2 separate regions of the Homo sapiens genome follow, and region 1 is linked to region 2. Evidence: promoter capture Hi-C in human tissues and cell types (Jung and others, 2019). All regions are on one chromosome and are shown on one strand. Each heading gives the region's core, a stretch centred on a gene start or on the middle of the fragment in contact. The rest is flanking DNA. Distances are from core to core; before and after follow the strand shown.

Region 1 (3,862 bases), core at 34-2,533, 100 kb after region 2:
ATTCGGCAAGAGACCTCAGGCTGAGCCCAGAGCTGAGCACCAATGGGGTGTGGGGTTGGGTAGGGAGGAGTGGGGTGCAGATTGTGAGCAAAGTCAGAATTCTTAAATGAAAGGAGCTGGTTCAGGTCCCCCTGCCTCTGGGGAGTTCCCTGACTGGTGAAAATAAGGCCTATTCTGAAAATGCTTAGAAAAGATCCAATGCAGGGGATGAATACGCTACAGGCACTGTGTGGGGGAAGGGTAGGAGCTGGGGAATAAGGATGAAATGGGACTTGGTGCCAGCACAGCAGGCTTCCTGGAAGCAGTGGCTTTGTGGGAGGGGAAGGCCCAAGATAGCCTGTGTCACAGATGGCCCTGGCTTTCAGGCTGGCACCTTTAGTGACCTGCAGTGAGGTCCTTCATCCATGAGGGACTCTGGCCCACCTTTCTCTGCCTCCTGGTGAGAGTGCCTCTAACTTGTAACCCACCCGGAATGGCAGTCCTGTGCTCCCTCGGCATGTCCCCCAGGCTGGGGCACAATATCACAATGGACCAGGAAATCCTTCCTCGCCTCTAATTCTGTTTCTCCTGCTGCAAACAATGTGGGCATCACTCATCCAAGCAGCTACTGGGCAACTGTACTAGCGGCTCCCAGGGGCTGTTAGTCAAAGCCTTCACTGAACCAGGACCTTTTAAAGTTTCTTATTTTGAGAATTTTCACATATACCAAAGAGTATAGCAAAATAAACATCCATATACTCCTCACTCCAGTTTAGCAAACGTGACTATTTCGAAGTCATTGGAAGCACAGAAGAACCTGGCAAAGTGTTCCCTTGGAGCTAAGACCTCCTCCACACCTGCCCTGTGCCCTCGCCACGCCTCTGGACTTAAAAGTGGAGGTGGAGGGATTACTCACAGCACTGGAGCAGCACCAGGACCACAAAGCCTGAAGAGAAATCCAGGATGAGACCCCTGCAAGTGCATCCTGCCCTTCCGCCCTGCTCCCTCCCCCAAGCAACTGAGACCCACCTCCCCCACCCCCACCTCCTGGTTGCAGCCTCAGTCCCTCCCCTGGCTCTGCTTCTCCTCCCCCTCTGCCCACTCCCTTAGTCCCTCACCCAGCAGGCAGATGGCTCTGCGGGCTGTCTGGGCCTGAAAACCCACAACTCTGATGGATTAACCTTGGCTAGCCCAGATACCTGTTTGAGACGCCTTCACACCCATTCTGGCTGCAGCAGAGCAGGGCAGGGTGTGGCCTCTTCCCTTGCCCACGGCTCCTGGTGCCAGCTACCTAGACAGGGCCTCTTCCCCAGGCCCTGTACTTCCTTTATATACCTGTCCCACTCCACTCCCCGACGCGGCAAACCAGCCCTTTTATGGGAACTGAGCTATGTGTCAATGAAGGAATCACGAGGCTGGCAAGTGGAGGCGGGGGAGTACTATGGATTACCAGAGGAGGGTTGAGAAACCGCAGAGTTTTGAAAACTTTGGGTCAGGTCTTCATGAGGCACCTGCCAGCAGAAGAGCCACTAGGGTGATGATGGGGGGCTTCTGGAGATGTGACTCAGCCGCATTTCCCAGCCTTCCTCCCACTCCTGCACCCCACCACTGGCCTTTCTTGCCAGCAATTTCCTGGCTTTTCTGGCAGCCTCTACCTTTGCATCTTCAGCATTCACTCCAGGCCCCTGGCCAGGTGGAAACTGGGCACAATTTAGTTACGTAAGCCACAGTGCCCTAAACAAGGCTGTTGTTTTCTTCCCAGGCTCAGCATTGCCCTGCTTGACCTACCTTCCTACCCTCCCCCTCACACTTTCTGTCTTCAGGCTGGGTAAGGGCCAGAGAGCCTCGGGAGGAAGGAAAGCAAAGAGCCTGAAACTGAGCGCTCCCTTTTGGGCCCGTGTCTTTTTTTTTTTTTTTTTTTTTTTTTTTGCAATTTACATGCTGATTATTTAGAGGGAAAGACAGGGAAATTCCCAAGAATGCTTTAAGCCCCGGTGCTATTTTGCTTCTGTTTTGAAATTCCCATAAAGAGAGAGGATCTTTTGCAAGCTCGGTGCTGCAGTGAGGCACCATGGAGGAAATACAGGCCCTACGGGGCGGCTGCACGAGCATCTGACATCAGTCAGCTCCCCAACTCTCTCAGTGAGGCTTTGGAACCCAAGCCTGATGATACAGCCCCTCTCTAAATCCTTCAGTGATCTCTCATCACTCCTAGGACAAGAACAAAACTTCTTAACGAGGCTCCCTGCCTGATTACGTCCCTGTTTGTGGATACATTTTTTTTTTGGCCAAATATCCAGGACAACTCCATTCTTTGCAGGCTTAACATTAATTAATAGGCAGTGAGTGAAAAGTTCAGAACTCCAAGAGGCAGAATGGGTCCAAGGGCTTCTCAAGAAAGTACCTTTATTTTTCACTAATGTTAGGTAATACTCTAATTTTTCCAGGCTGGTTTTGCAGCTCTCTCGGTGAGGTCTCTCTGCTCTCTCCCTCTTCTCTCCCTCTCTCCCTTTCTCTTCCTTTAAAACTCAGCCAGTGCCTTCCCTTCATTGTAAGAGAGGTGGACAAAAAGTGGCTTGTCCAGAATCACGCTCGGTGAATACTAAAGAGGCATCACTTTTCCTTTTTAAGATGACTGCCTCCTTTTGTACCCAAGATGATTGACAGCAATGACAGTCAATGATAGCTTCTTCTGGTTCATTTGGGGCACTGAGAGGAGGACTTCTAATTTCTAATAGTGATATTATGAAGTGGCATGCAGATGCAAAATTTTTCATCACAGAGCACAGGATGTTAAGAAAACACCTCCTATTTTCACTATCTCCCTTTGTTAAAAATTATTTCATAGGCTTAGATTGGCCCAAGCCTTGTTGTCCTATGCTCCCTCAAGCTCAGTTTATTAATTCCACATGCTCTGCCTGAAGGCAGCTTTGTAACAACAAATGGCCAAGATACCCCCAGGCCTGTGTTAGCAGGATTGGCCAAGGGTCTCATAGGCTCACCACCTCCCAGCCTTATCTCAGGCCATGACCCCCACCCTCCCTATATTCCACTCATGCTTATATGTCTTCTTTTAAATCCTTATATTTGCTCTACTGACTCCCGCCACAGGGCCTTTATATATGACATCCACTTGCCTGTAAATAACGATGAAAGATCTGAGATTTTATGCTACTTGCAAATTAATGACATAACTACAGTTTCGTGGATGTTGGCAGAAGACACGAGACTCCTAGGTCAGAGACAAAGGACTTTATTATCCATGGTACAGCAAGCAGCATGAACTTCATGTTAGGGTCAGTTCCCCTTAGCCCTCAGGTCTCACAAGGGCAGTGTTGGAGGAGCCCAGGTAGATGCCATGAATGCAATGAGTTACATCACAGCAGAGGAATCCCTAGTTTAAGGAACTCAAATCTTTCATGATGAGCAGTAAGCCTTCCTCACCTTGGCCAGCCCAAGATAAGGGAGACATTATCTTTATTACTGGACAGTAAACAAATCTGCCTTTTGGTCTGGAGGGGGGACGCTATTTCTATCTTCCAAGGCTGTTTGCTGTACAAACATCACTAAAAAGATTGCCTAGAACAAAGAAGCCAGTGCCTCTGCACATAAGCTGTGCAGGAAATGCAGGCAACCCATGGAGAATTGCGGTTGGAGAATTGCGGATGGAGAATTGCAGCCTAACACTGCTCTTCTTTGACTGCTTTATTCTTCCTCATCCTTCAGATTGCAGCTCAGGAGTCACCTTGTCTGCAGAAAAGGCAGTCTCCAGGTGACAGAAAACCCGCTATAGGGCTGTCAGAGCACTTTGTACCTCTCTCCTTAACACCTGACTCAGTTATAATTTTATATGTTGTGTGTGGCAGTGGATGTTTTGTTTGCC
Region 2 (3,482 bases), core at 319-2,818:
GGAGCTACTATCACTCCTTTGCTGGTCAAGACTGCAGGGGCACACAGAACCTCCCAGCCCACCCTTTGGGCCTTGGAGTCAGCAGGTCCCTAGAGAGACCCAAGGGAAGAGGACCGGAGCAAGGAATAAGGTAAGAGGGGAGAACCTGGCCCAGGGAGGGACTGAGGGATTGGAGCCAAGGTTACCAGTCAGGCCTTACTTACCCCCTGGGTTGGCGCTGAACTCCAGTGCACTGCCCCACTCTGGACTGCAGGAGGCGCTGTGAGAGCTGCATTCGCTGGGCACCTGCAAGACAGGGCGAAGGCCCAAGGTCGGGGCACAGCCATTCTTTGATGTCTCTCTCTGCCTAGTCCCAGTGGGCAGAAGTACCTGTGGTGGGGTTGGAGGGTGGGCCACAGGCTGTGGCCTTCCAGCCCAGGCCATCCCCAACCCCAGAATCTTTGTAACTAGCTCCTCTCACACCCCAGAGGCCCTGCTTCCAGGCCTTCCTGGCTTCCATCCTGGGTGGTGGTTCTGCTCTCACAGGACACCAGCTTAAAGGGGTCCCTGGTTCTCCTGACTCTGGCGATAAGGGTGATGGAGACAGATTTTGTGGCCCAGTGAAGGTCGCTCTGTGCAGGCCTGCTGGAGTTCCAATGAGACTGAGTGGGTTTTCTCTCTGCTCAGCCACACCCAGGATGGGGGCAAAGCAGTCTTCTCTGGTGAACTTGGCCTGGCCTTTTAGGCTCTGACTCAGGCGCTGGGATTAATCCTCACCCTCACCTGGGCTGACTGTGGCCTTGCTCCTGATCTTTCTTCAGTCCTATGTTCCCCACCCCAACCCCTTCTGCACTTCCTCCCCACTGCCTTTATCTTGTCTGGAAAGAACACAGGACACAGGAGGTCAGCTGGATAGCCCAGCTCTGACCAGGGAAGGGCTCCTGCAGCCCCTCGACCCTGTCTGGCACCTGCACCAACCCTCTGAGCCCCTCTTGGGGTCTTGAGGCTGTCCAGGTGCCTCCCTCTGGCCCCGTCCCCTTGGGGCAGGGGGATGGGATGGCCACTTACCCCTGGCTGGGGCCCGCCCCCGCCCCGGTAGCGGAGGTCACGCTCCTCCTGGTTGAGGGAGCTGAGCAGGGCCTGGAGGCGCTCGATGTACTGGATGGCACTGCGCAGGATCTCCACCTTGGGCAGCCGCTGGTTGGGGTTGAGCAGGGTGCTTCTCTTCAGGGCCTCGAAGGCCTCATTCACCTTCTTGAGCCTGCGCTTCTCCCTCAGTGTGGCCGCCCGCCGCCGGTCCACGGACACCGACTTCCTCTTACACACCTTACACGCCCACGGCAGGCACTGGCCTGGACAGTGCTCGGGGGTCCCCAGCCCCTTGTCCTCAAGGGGCCCTGGGGCCTCGGGGCTCAGGGTGAGCTCCGTCCGCTCGTAGCCTGGTGGTTCGAAGCCCTGGAGGTGGACAGGCAGGTAGTTTTCCCCATCATAGAAGCGGGGTTCCTGGTAGAAGTAGGGGGATGTCTCATACAGCTCCATGGGGTCGGAAAAGGCTTGTTCCTGCCACCAGCCCCCAAGCTCCAGCAGCCCCTCACGCCAACTGCTGGGTGCCATTTAAACCCTCCCCGCTGGCATGGAACCAGAGATAAATATAGCCAACGCCACAGAAACCTGAGCCCCCTCTAAGCTGTTGCTGCACATCAAGGCGTTTACAGTGGATTAGATGTGATTCCCCTTCTTTCTCCCGCATGGCCCCCACCCCACCCTGCCAGCCTGCCCCTGGCCCAGGCGGGCTCCTGTGCACGGGTCGGGAGGCCGTCGGGTGTAATTTGATTAGTTTTCATTTCTCAGCAGCCCCTGTGGGGCAGGGGCGTTGGGGGAGGACACATTCCCCTCTCATCTGCTCCTTTCAATTACTCCTAGCTGGGCGGCCTGCCTGCTGTCTCCTTGCAGTCCCGAAGAAGCTGGTGGGTATAGGGGGAGGAGGGAACAAGGAAGGGTAGGCTTAGGCTGGAAGGGGCCTTAAGAGCCAACTTATCCATCTCCTTGCTTCCTGACAGCACCTTAACCACACTACATCAGTCGATGAGACTCTTTTAAAGACTTCCCTCCGGAAAGAATGGGACTGCTTCAGATTCTGGGCATTCATGGGCACTCAGTATCCAGGGATAAGAAGGATCAAGACTCAGAGCAGCTAACAGATTCCACTTTTGGGGTTCCCAAGCAGCTTTGAGCTGTATGTTCTCTTAGGTCTCATCTGGGGGGGTAAATTGAGGCAAGAGAAATTATTTGGGTTTTGGTTTTCTTGGCAGGGGTAAAGAGAAATTTCCTCTTTAATACAGCAGCCGTGGTCAGAGCAGAGATTAGAATTTACAGCCTACACGTTGCCACCTTCCCCAGAGCGGCAAGGTCAAGATGTCCTAAGCTCCCTGTCTCCTCCCTGTCTCACTCCGGACCATTGATCTGTCCTTCTATGTTACCTCCTCAACTCTTTTTCCAACACCAGAATTTTCCTGGCTCATTAATGTGGACGGGGGTGAAAAAGTAGAAAAAACAGAGCCCTTCAAACTCAGTTTAAATCTCCTCTCTCCTTGGCCACCGGGCTTGGTTGTTCTGCCTCTTACTGTCTGAGCCATCAATTTTACACGTATCATGCAGGTCTCAAATGTCAGGTAGAGCAGGGACTATTTAATCTTCAGGCCTCTCAGGCCATGGTCACCTCTCAGTAGGTGCCTCAGGGTCTGAGAGGACAAATTCCTTCCAATGCAGTGGGCAGACCTTAGACACTAGCAGTGAACAAGGCTCAGTCTTAGGGCTGGGGATTATAGGGACACCCCAGACAGGATCCCTGCCCTCGAACTTACCATCTGATAGACAACGGTGATCACCTCTTTCTACCTAGCCCCTGATGCCCAAATCTCCTCCGAGGCGGCTACTGTTCAGCTTCTGCTCACGTCAGGAGACAGCCCGTTCCATTGACGTGTAGCTTTGGGCTGCAATCTGCTCCCTCTATCTTTTATCCTTTGTTCCCAGTTTTTTCCTCCCCATAGACTAATGTCCTGCTCCTTATCCTACGACAGATCAAACTGACAAGTTCAAGCCAGTGGCAAGGACAATAAGAGGAAGGGGAACCCTGCTGGGGACTCATGGGAGACTTCACAGGGAACATGAGATCTGCGAGGCATGTGAAGAACCAGTGTTCCTTCCTCTCATTATTCACAGCAGGGAGCCAGGAGAATTCTGATGTCCTTTTGGGACAGGAAATGGAGGGAAGGAGGGAACATAGCTGGACAACAAAAGAACCCTAAGCATGTTGAGGGAGAGCAGTGAGGTCTTAATTCTGTTCTTGGCCTTACCAGCATGATAGAAAGTAGCAGCATAGGCCGGGCGTGGTGGCTCATGCCTGTAGTCCTAGCACTTTGGGAGGCCAAGGCGGGTGGATCACGAGGTCAGGAGTTCAAGACCAGCCTGGCCAAGATGGTGAAACCCTGTCTCTACTAAAA

Evidence for each region. Contacts are between HindIII fragments. The study calls those that stand out against the background at their distance.
Region 1: a contact is called between the fragment with the promoter of CHI3L1 here and the fragment with the promoter of MYOG in region 2, in 3 of the 25 tissues and cell types used here (bladder, small bowel and stomach).

What each region holds. Positions count from the first base shown.
Region 1 is chr1:203,185,421-203,189,282 of GRCh38, forward strand. It overlaps CHI3L1 (chitinase 3 like 1), which reads right to left and starts at 1,284. Exons shown (of 10, transcript NM_001276.4): 1 at 1,179-1,284; 2 at 896-925. The coding sequence starts at 1,203. The HindIII fragment of the contact is 13,862 bases long and covers 1-3,862 here.
Region 2 is chr1:203,084,444-203,087,925 of GRCh38, forward strand. MYOG (myogenin) reads right to left here and starts at 1,569. Exons shown (of 3, transcript NM_002479.6): 1 at 1,048-1,569; 2 at 204-285. The coding sequence starts at 1,518. MYOPARR (myogenin promoter associated myogenic regulatory antisense long non coding RNA) reads left to right here. Exons shown (of 3, transcript NR_160550.1): 2 at 1-130; 3 at 2,040-3,482. RefSeq lists an enhancer at 2,888-3,405. The HindIII fragment of the contact is 26,934 bases long and covers 1-3,482 here.